3 separate regions of the Homo sapiens genome follow, and all the other regions are linked to region 2. Evidence: promoter capture Hi-C in 16 types of primary human blood cells and fetal thymus (Javierre and others, 2016). All regions are on one chromosome and are shown on one strand. Each heading gives the region's core, a stretch centred on a gene start or on the middle of the fragment in contact. The rest is flanking DNA. Distances are from core to core; before and after follow the strand shown. Region 1 has its middle 55 kb from the start of LINC00895. Region 2 holds the start of SLC25A1 (solute carrier family 25 member 1). Region 3 has its middle 72 kb from the start of LINC00895.

Evidence for each region. The method cuts DNA at HindIII sites, captures the fragments that hold promoters and counts their contacts. A CHiCAGO score of 5 or more calls a contact.
Region 1: a fragment that was not itself captured here is called in contact with the fragment with the promoter of SLC25A1 in region 2 in 4 of 17 cell types (total B cells, activated CD4 T cells, naive B cells and 1 more); the score reaches 11.5 in total B cells.
Region 3: a fragment that was not itself captured here is called in contact with the fragment with the promoter of SLC25A1 in region 2 in 1 of 17 cell types (erythroblasts); the score reaches 6.2 in erythroblasts.

The regions. Positions count from the first base shown.
Region 1 is chr22:19,619,739-19,623,220 of GRCh38, forward strand. No RefSeq gene overlaps it. Among named protein-coding and RNA genes, the nearest start is that of LINC00895, 55 kb to the left of the region's middle. RefSeq lists a silencer at 1-242 and an enhancer at 593-1,354. The HindIII fragment of the contact is 3,998 bases long and covers 1-3,482 here.
Region 2 is chr22:19,176,945-19,180,354 of GRCh38, forward strand. It overlaps SLC25A1 (solute carrier family 25 member 1), which reads right to left and starts at 1,792. Exons shown (of 9, transcript NM_005984.5): 1 at 1,636-1,792; 2 at 1,189-1,296; 3 at 998-1,097; 4 at 783-921; 5 at 176-260; 6 at 1-6. The coding sequence starts at 1,729. It overlaps CLTCL1 (clathrin heavy chain like 1), which reads right to left. Exons shown (of 33, transcript NM_007098.4): 32 at 3,255-3,294; 33 at 2,529-3,025. The coding sequence ends at 3,275. RefSeq lists silencers at 1,009-2,088, 2,289-2,388 and an enhancer at 1,090-1,837. The HindIII fragment of the contact is 6,402 bases long and covers 1-3,410 here.
Region 3 is chr22:19,637,459-19,640,629 of GRCh38, forward strand. No RefSeq gene overlaps it. Among named protein-coding and RNA genes, the nearest start is that of LINC00895, 72 kb to the left of the region's middle. The HindIII fragment of the contact is 4,348 bases long and covers 1-3,171 here.

The sequences.
Region 1 (3,482 bases), core at 498-2,997, 440 kb after region 2:
GGGAAAACAGCCGGGAATCACCCAATATCTATTCCTTCCTTCCTTTCCATTTTCTTTTACAACAGCAAAATGATGCCAAGATTTTTCTGTGCTTCCCCTGTTATAGGCTGATTTATGGCCTCCCTCCCAAGTTCCTATGTTGAACTCCTAACCACCCAGTCCCAACCCCATATGGCTGTATTTGGATAGATCTTTTTCTTTCTTTCTTTTTTGAGACGGAGTCTTGCTCTGTTGACCAGGCTGGAGTGCAGTGGTGCAATCTTAGCTCACTGCAACCTCTGCCACCTGGGTTCAAGAGATTCTTGTGCCTCAGCCTCCTAAGTAGCTGGGACTACAGGTGCGCACCACCACGCCTGGCTAATTTTTTGTATTTTTAGTAGAGACGGGATTTCACCAGGCTGGTCTTGAACTCCTGACCTCAAGTGATCTACCTGCCTCGGCCTCCCAAAGTGTTGGGATTACAGGCCTGAGCCACTGCACCTGGCTGAGAGAGGGTCTTTAAACAGGTAATTCATTCAAAATGAGGTCATGAGGGTGGGCCCTACTCTTGTATGACTGGTGTCCTATAAGAAAAGGAGACTAGGGCCTAGCAAGGTGGCTCCCAACAGTTTGGGAGGCCAAAGCAGGAGGATTGCTCAAGCCCAGATGTTCGAGACCAGCCTGAGCAACATGGTGAGACCCCCATCTCTACAAAAAATTTTAAAAATTAGCCAGGCATGGTGAGGTGCACCCGTAGTCCCAGCTACTTGGGAGCCTGGGAGGCTGAGGCAAGAGGATCGCTTGAGCACTAGGAATGTGGGGCTTCGGTGAGCCATGATTGTGCCACTGCACTCCAATCTGGGCAACACAGCAAGATCCTGTCTCTAAAACTAAATAAAGAAAGAAAAAGGAGAGGAGATTAGGACACAGGTATGCCCAGAGGGATGACCCTCTGAGGGCATGGCGAGAAGACGGCCATCGACAAGCCCGGGAGAAGGTCCCCGGAAGACATAACCCTGCCCACGCCTTGATCCCAGACTTCCGGCCCGCAGAATATAAGACAATAAAGGTCTGCGGTGAGGCCACCAGCCAGTGGCACTTTGTGATGGCAGCCCCGGGAGGCCAAAACAGCTGCCTGTTCCCCACGTCCCTCTCCCAGCAGAAGCGCATGGGCTGCTCTTGAGCCCCAGCTGCAGTCCATCACTGTCAGTGCTAATGCGAAGCTCCCCTAAGACTGACTTGACAATATTGGCGAGTGGGCTTGACCCACCAGCCTGCATCCGGTGCCGGTGAATGGGCACTTACGTTCCTTATTGAAACGCTACTTGTGGCCCTCTGCTTCCCGGAGCTCCTGGCAACAGCCCAACTTTATGTTCCAAATAGGAAAAGGCTGCTTGATTTAAAGACTCGGACTTCATTAGGCGTTACCTTGATTTATGGAAAAATAATACTGAATGGTTGCATAACAATGGCCCACTGCTCACCTACGTGTGGCCTGGGGTTAATAAAACCGGCACATTTGTCTCTCCCACGATGACGTCAACGTGTACCAGCCCTTCTCTTCCACATGGGAAACGTGTTATGTTGTTCCAATTGTACATTCACTTGGTGAAGGGTTGTGTTAAGTGATTCCAAAAATTGACTGTGTATATTTTCTCTAGGGAAGTTATTGTATATTATTTTAGCTGGGAACATCTCTCGCACACAATTACTAATCAGAAGTGAAAATCAGGATTTGTCCCCGGCCCACCTGGCGGATCTGATGCAGCGCCAGGGCAGCCCGTGAAGACGGGCGCTCTTCCTCCGTGACTCTGGGCCAGGCAGAAGGAGCCTTGGAGAGGCTGCAGGAGGAAGCCCGGCTTGAGGCCATTCCTGTTTTGTCTTGCTGGAATTCAAAGATATTTGTTAATCCTTTCCCCCCACTTGAGTTGAGAAGGCCTGGAATGAGGTTTCACAAGCTGTGCCCTGTAGAGCTCCTGGGGAAACTGGCTCGAAAGAATGACTTCTCGAGAGGGAAACTAATATTTGCTTATTTTCCCCCCACTAACTTCCCAAGGGAAGGCTAATCTTTAGAAACACAGAAACTTTGGAGGCCAATAAAATTGAGAGCAAGAGAAGCGAGATTGTTTCATTGTTGCCACCATGAAGGAGAGTTTGTTTTTACTGGATTTCTTTTTCCCTTCAGGAAGGCTCTGGTAAGAGTCCTGATAGATTATTCTCGCACCCCTGGTTCTGGCTTTCCCCCCATTGTTTCAATTGCCCTTTTAATCACCACGATCTCAGTCAAGGTCAAGGCTGCTGTTTCATGTACCCGTGCCCCGCCTGCCCTCCTCTGCCGCGGATTCCCATGGGGATGTGTGTGGCTGCATGACCACCCTTCCGTGTCACCAATCACACCGAGCAGCCCTGAAGCCAGCGTGGGGTGTCGGCAGGGTGGTGGCACTCGGCATTTCCCAGCCTCTTCTTGGATGCCTGGGGTCCTCTCTGCAGGGTTTGGTGAGGCCCTGCTGGGGTGAGAGCCCTTGGCAGCCCCAACTGTGTCTGATCACAGGCGAAGCATTTATGAGGCAGCTGGGTCCCATAACAGAAACAGGGAAACCAGAGGCAGAAGTGACATTACGAAGTGGCTTACGGCGCTGCTAAGTCAGGGTTGGGGTAGCAAAGCGTCATATAGGGAACTGAAATGCTTTTCAGCGCACAATAGCAGTGAACTGGATGGGAATCTTCGGGCCGAGAGAAGTCCAGGCAGAGGCGTTAAAAAGTTTAGGCAAGGAAAAGGAGTGAAGGGCTGGACCTGGTGGGGTGGGGTCCCATTCCCAGGAGAGTCGGCCCTGCCCCAGCAGCTTCCAGCTGGAGCCTTCAAGGACCTGGAGGGGGCAGGACCAACCCCTCCACCCTCCCTGCCCTTCACCCTCAAGTTCACCTGCAGGGCTGTCTTCTTGCTTACTAAGGCCTGGGAGAGTTTAATTCCAAAGCAGAGGATGATGACTGGAGAAACGGATGCCTGGTTGAGTCACTTCTGGGGGCTCAGCATTGGAATCCCTCTGTAACCTCCCAGAAGCAGAAGTGGTGGCGTCCAAGGCTGCCCAGGCCCCTCCAGTGATGAGGAGCCCAGACCCTACAACACGCCTTTGCCCCCTGCACACCCTTCCTGCTGACAGCCCCATCCCATGCTCCTCCCCATCTGACCCGTGTGTGTGTGTGTGTGTGTGTGTGTGTGTGTGTGTGTGTGTGTGCGCCCCCCACCCCCGCAGACCTCCCGAGACAGCTCTGGCAGCCCCACCTGCCAGGGGTCAAGTGCAATTCCTCTGGAAGTAGCATCTTTCACATGGAAACGTTCCTTTATTTTCAGTAGTTATGGTCGTCAGCGAGCCCTCTTAAAGGAGTCAGGTGTCCTGCTTTTGTTAAAATGACGTTGTCTCCTAACTCTTAGAGAAGAGGAAAAATGTCTCTGCCCAGCTGGCATGCTGGGGCACAGACCACTGAAGCCAAGGCTTTGGACT
Region 2 (3,410 bases), core at 542-3,041:
TCAGCCCTGCGGGAAGGCAGGCACGGGGTTACCCTGCAGCCTCTCAGGCCCCGGTTGGGAATTGGTGTGTGTGGGGGGTGGGTGTTGCACAAAGCCCAAGGCAGGATGGGAGGTGCAGGCCCTTCCCACCCTGGCCCAGGTCCCTGAGCCCTATCAGGAAGGTCGAGTGGCTCACCTTGTTCCCGCACAATCTCCCTAACCCCGTGGAAGAATCCTCTGTACTTGGGGTTTGGGGAGGTCTGGTCGTGGATGAACTTCACCTGAGAGAGAGAAGCAAAGGCGCAGGTTCTCGGCTGCCACCTGGGTGGGTCCTGGCTAGCTGGCAGGCCCAGGGCCCATCCAGGGTGGAGGGAACTGGGAACTCTTCCCCAGGAAGCAGTGCAGCCAAGGCCGCCCTGGGCTGCCCACACGGACCATGCCCCGGGACACAGGGCAGCCCACACGGACCATGCTCTGGGACACAGGGCAGCCCTGTGAGCAGCCTCTCCCTTTATGTTTGCTGCTCTTTTCCAGTTTTGGCAGTGAAGGTGTCATTTTGTTTTCTGCTTTATAAAAGTATTTTTTAAAGACTTTAAGGCTGCCTTTAGCATAGACTCAGCCTCCACGGGTGGCCCTTCGTGGCAGGCGTCCTGCCCCAGGGCCCCGCGGTCACCCCGCCGGCCTTCCCTGGCGTCCAGGAGACCCTCCCCAGCTTGCCGGTTGCCCCGGGAGCACCGGGCCAGCGGGGCCGCCCGTCTCCGTACTCCCTGCGTGTCCGGGGTCCTCGCCAGGACCTTCCCCACCTTGATGGTCTCCATGGGGCACACGACCACCACGGCCTCGGCCACGCCAGCGCCCAGGCCGCACAGCAGCCCACGCGTGCTGTCCAGCCGTCCCTGGGCATCCCGCATGTGGTTGCTGAGGAACTCGAACATTCCAAACCTGGAGGCGGGAGGCGGGTGAGAGGGGCTGCCGCGGCCGAGCCCCCCTCCCGCAGCAGCCACCGGCCGGGCCTCACCTGACGGCCGCCTTGGGGATGGAACCGTAGAGCAGGGAGCTAAGGCCGCGGTACAGGCCCAGGACGCCATGGCTGCGAACCGTCTGCCGCACGCAGTCCCCTGGGGGAGGGGGCGGTCAGGACCCCACGGCCCTCGGTGCCGCCGCCCTGGGTACCCGCCCCCCGCGGCGCCGCGGCCTCCCCCTCCTCACCGATGCCCCGGTACCGCGGCGGGTGCGAGCGCTCGTCCAGCTGCAGCTGCGTCTTCACGTACTCGGTGGGGAAGGTGATGCAGATCTCGATGCCACCCGCCAGGCCGCCTGCAGGGACCGGGAACCCGCTCCTGAGACTCCCGCCCGGCCGCTGGCGCTCGGGCCCCTCCCCCGTCCCGGACTTCGGTCGGCGCGGCCGCCGCGCCAGTGCCGCGGGGAACATAGGCTGGGGCCCCACGCCCCCATGCCCTCACCCCGTTGTCCCGGCGAGGCGCAGGGGGTGACAGACGGGAGGCGGGCGAGTCCCAGCGCGCCGGGTGGGGACCAGGACCGCGCCTCCACGACTCCCCAGCCCACGGCCCAACCCGGAAGTGGGGCGGGGCCTCAGCGTCCCGGGCCCACCCAGAAGCGCGGCGGGAGAGGGGTCCGCGTCCCGGAGGGGCCCACCTGCCAGGATCGCCTTCCCCGGGTGCGTCAGCTTGGCCTTCCCGGACGCGGGCGCGGCGGCCGCCAGAGCGCGCGGGGCGCGGGGCGCGGGCATGGCGGGCGGGAGGCGGGGCGCCCTGTGGCGGCTTCGGGTCCGAGACTCCAGAACTCCGCGCTCGGTCCGCGGTGGCGGCGGCGGCCGGTTATGGTCCCAGGGGCGGGGCGGCCGCGTCAGCTCCAGGTCCCGCCCCGCGTGGTCCGAGCCAGGCCCCGCCCCCAGCCCGCCCCGTGCGGGCCGGGAAACTGAGGCCTGGGCGGGGCGCGCCGAGGCAGGCGTAGGGGCGGGGCCAAAGCGCAGCCAATGGCCGAGGCCGAGTCCCTGGGCGACCGCGAGCGGCGGGACGGGGGCGGGGCTGCGGGAGGCGGAGCCGTGGCCCAGCTCCGAGCAGTGGGTCAAGGTGCACTGTGTGCCGCGCCGCGGGATAGCGGGCCTCGGGTCTGCGCGACTGTCGAGAGCGGCGGGATCCCCAGGGATCCCGGAGGCCAGGGGCACACCCTCCCCGAAAACACGTGGGGCTAGCCCAGTCCCAGAGGAACTCTAACGTTTCAAACCTGGAGGCGGGAGGCGGGAGGCCGGTGAGAAGGGGCTACGCCGCCGGGCCCCCCTCCCGCAGCAGCCACGGGCCGGGCCTCACCTGCCGGTTCCCACCCACACCTTTCCCGGTTGTAGTTTCTGCGCTCAGCGAACAAGGTCAGGAAAGACCACAAATGCAAGCGGCTGTATTCTCCTAGGCAGCTTGTCTGGGCAACGGAGGTCCCACACCCCAAAGAGGACCCAGCAAATCTTTAATGGACTGCGGGGCCTAGGAAACTGGCCCGTCCCTCCTACCCATACCAGCACCAAGCAGAGCACCTTTGCCTGGATAAACCGACTTTAATATTTATGATTGCCAAGAGGCTGAGAGTCCTTTTATGAGGTCCGGTACCTCCAAACAAGACGTGTTCATGTAGTCTTCAAACTGGCCTGGAGGGGGCAGCTCCAGCCAGTCGGAGGCGCCCAGGAGGAAGGCCTGGCTCCAGCAGGAGGGCCCACAGTCCAGTCTCTGTTGTCGGCTAAAGCTGGTCTTGCGCCGTCAGCCTCTACCCTGGCCTCCCCAGGCTCTGGGATGGCTCAGAGGTTGCCGTCATTGGGTTTCAGCAAAAATAAATATTGTCCAGGTGTCCCTGCCTCCCATTGCGTCCCCTGTGCTGCTGGAGTGACATGCTCCTTGGAGAAGTTAGTAACTCTGCAGGTAGGGTGGGTGGTGACAACGCCCACTACACGCGGAAGTTGTACATTGGAGGCTGGCGAAGTTGGGAGCAGAGGCATATCCATAGGGGAAGCTGGCAGGGGCTGGGCCCACGGCAGGGCCTGCAGAGGGGGAAGCCCACAATGAGCAGAGCTCTTCCTGCCCATGGGGGTCCTCTCCTGGCTGCCCCTGAGTAGCCCGGGGCCCAGGGAGCAGGGTCTATAGGACCAGCCCTTACCACCCAGACGCTGAGGCCCCAAGAGAGCAGGCATCCAGAGGCAAGGAGCGTGGGGTCAGCCAGAGAACCTGGCCTGGCTAGAGGATAAGCTAGTCTCCAAATGGGACACTTACTTAGTGCAATCAGCTGGGTCTCATTCATGCCCATCAAAATCTAAAAAAACCAGAATGACATTAATGGTGGAAGGACACACTCAGCCGGACGCTGGAGACCCGCCGGCGTGCTGCACACTCACACCACACCCTCAGGCCTGTGTTTGCCCCACAGTG
Region 3 (3,171 bases), core at 125-2,624, 460 kb after region 2:
CACAGGACTGAATCACAGAACTGTGTCCTCAGCAGTCACTGGCAGGGGACAGGGGTCACCCGAACTGGGTGGAGGCCCGAACCTGACACCCCTGAGCTGTGCTAAGCAGAGGGCTCCTGAACAGAATTGAGATTGAGGCCACAGGGCCAGGCTGACTCCCTCCTGCCCCACGTGCTCTCCGGTGAGACCCTGCTTGGTCTGCAAAGCCGAGCTCGATGCCCTCCCTACCTCTTCTCTCCTAGGCCTCATCCACGGCCTTGTCTTGGGCCAGACAGCCATGTGCCATGTCTGTCCTCCCATGCAGCATCTGCACCGTGGGGGTGGGGGGGGAGATTCTCTGCCACGTTCAGCACCTCAAAGGCAGGGGGTGCATTTCACTCAGCTCTGCATCCTGTGCACCCTCAGCCATGCCGGCAGAGCATGTGTGGGGAAGGGCCCGAGGGACCCCAGGGAAGGAAGAGCACTGTGTCTGCATCCAGAAGAAAGTTCTGAAAAAAATGGGAACCTCTGTGACTACAATGAACTTGTAACAAAAGCAATGACTTTGCTCTTCCAGGAGGCACAAAAGGAGCCCCAGGCAGTGCGCAGGACCCCCAGGCAGTGGTCAGGAGCCCTGGGCAGTGAGGAGGAGCCCCAGGCAGTGGTCAGGAGCCCAGGGCAGTGAGGAGGAGCCCCAGGCAGTGGTCAGGGGGCCTGGGAAGCAGCCAAGAGCCCTGGGCAGTGGACAGGAAGCCCAGGCAGTGGCCAGGGGCCCCAGGCAGTGAGTAGGAGCCATGGGCAGTGGCCAGGAGCTGCAGCGTGCCAGTGTTCGCTCTGGCACTCAGTCAGGGACATCTGGACCAGCATCCTGCATGGGCTGGGTCTCAGGCTCCTTGCTCCATGAATTAGCAGAATCTCAGGCACCTGCTCTTGAATATGGGAAGGTGACATAGCACTTCTAGTAGGTCTTTTCCTAACCTCTTCCCTTTGCAGTTATTCTTTTTCAACCTAAGCATGCCAGGTGATGACCTTGTGATTCTCCTAACATACAAATGGCAGGCATGGAATAGTTCCTACCCAGGGTGCTGTGCTGGCCAAGGCTTTTCCAGCTTGGAGCAGACCTCATGCTCAGCCAGGAGACTGCCCACGGCCTTGGTGAGTTCCAGAGTCTCCTCTCCCTGCAGGGGTGTCTTCAGGAGCCCACAACCCAGCAAGTCCCTCTTCAGTGAAATGTGCGGGAGGAGGCACTGCAAGGCCCCAGGCCTCCAGGAAGCCGGAAGGTGCTGATGGGGTGCAAGGCAGGGCAGGGCTGGGGGAGGGGGGGCGCAAGGTTCACAGAGGCAGTGAGTGGAGTTCTGTTAACAGGGAAATGAATTAAAATATGTGGTGCGTGGACTTTGGGTCTCGAGGCCCAGAAAGCTGAGGCAAGGTGGCCTGAGTCAAATGGACAGGGATTGTCTGCCCAGGAGCTGGTTCAGCCGACATCAGAGATCATCTGTCTGCACAATGGCCTGCTAGTAAAGATTTTCAAGTTGTTCACACGTGTTACCCTTGAGGGTTTAGAAACATTCCCTGGGCACTCCCAGGGTGCTCAGACAGATGCTGTGGACTGGTGGCCAGTGAGCACTAATCATGACTTTTATTTTTCTTTTTGAGACAAGGGTCTCACTTTGTCACACAGGCTGGAGTGCAGTGGCACGATCACAGCTCACTGCAGCCTCAAACTCCCGGGCTCAAGTAATTCTCCTGACTTAGCCTCCAGAGTAGCTGGGACTACAGGTGCATACCACCACGCCCAACTAATTTTCTATTTTTAGTAGAGATGAGGTCTCACTTTGTTGCCCAGGCTGGTCTCGAACTCCTGACCTCAAGTAATCCTCCCATCTCGGCCTTGAAAAGTGCTTGAATTATAGGCATGAGCCACTGCACCTGGCATAATCATGCTGTTTATATGTTATGATGTTTTGATATCTTGGGAGGCCAGGCTGGCTGGGAAGAGACTGTCCCTCCCAGAGACAGCTAAATCCTACAGATGATAAACAACTTGCCTGGGAGCCTGTTTATTCACATGCAGACCAACCCATCCCAAGTCCATACTCCCAACCACCCCCTCTATCTAACTCTTACAACCAAGCCATTATTTCCTGGGCCCTGAATCCCACAGGGCCAGGCAGCAGGCACTAGGGATGGCCCTATACCCTGGCCAGCCAGCCTTATTCAGACCAGCTGGTCCTGAGCTGTTCACCTGCCCCACCTTGAAAGGCTCTGGTCTCAGCTTTCCCTGTCTCCTCTCTGCTTCCTGACCCAACCTGGGTCACCCACTGTGGCCTTGTGGGTGGGGTGAGTGTGCCCCTCCTCTCCAGAAATACGAATAATGAAGTCTTTCAGTGGCGCTGGCCACTCTCTGTGGGTGCTGACACCTCTGTAAGTTAAACTCCCATAGGCACGATGGAGACGCCTTGTGACTCAGCTCCTCAGTGCCAACACGGGCTGCCCCGTCGGCCACAGCGCGGCCAAAGAGCCCAGAGAGCGTTAGTATCTGTAGCCAGGCCCCTGTTGCCACCCCAGCTCTCCCGTAACCTCACATGCATGGCGCTGCTCTACTTCACCTCAGAAAAAGGACACACATTTACGTTCCATTTTTTACTTCAAATAATTGTTTAGATTGTGGTAAAATACATATAACACAACATTGGCCATTTGAACCAATTGGGTGGCACTAAGCACATCCACAGATTGTGCCACCATCTCCACCATCCGTCTCCAGGACTTTTCAACCGTCTCCACCATCTGGCTCCAGGACTCTTCAGCTTCCCACCACAAACTATCCCCATGAAGCACTCATTCCCCATCCCCATTCTCCTCCCCTTGCCCCTGGCGCCTACCATTCTATTTCTGTCTCCGTGGATTTGACTCCTCTAGGGTACCTCATGTAAGTGGAACCATGCAGTATTTGTATTTGTCTTTCTGTGACTGGTTTATTTCACTGAGCATAATGACCTCAGAGTTCATCCCTGTTGTAACATGTGTCACAATTCCTTCTTTCTTTTTTTTTTTTTTTTTTTTTTTTTTGGCAAGGTCTCACTCTGTCACTCAAGCTGGAGTGCAATGGTAGGATCATGGCTCACTGCAGCTTCAAACTCCTGGGCTCAAGAGCTCCTCCTGCCTCAGTCTTCCCAGTAGCTGGGACTA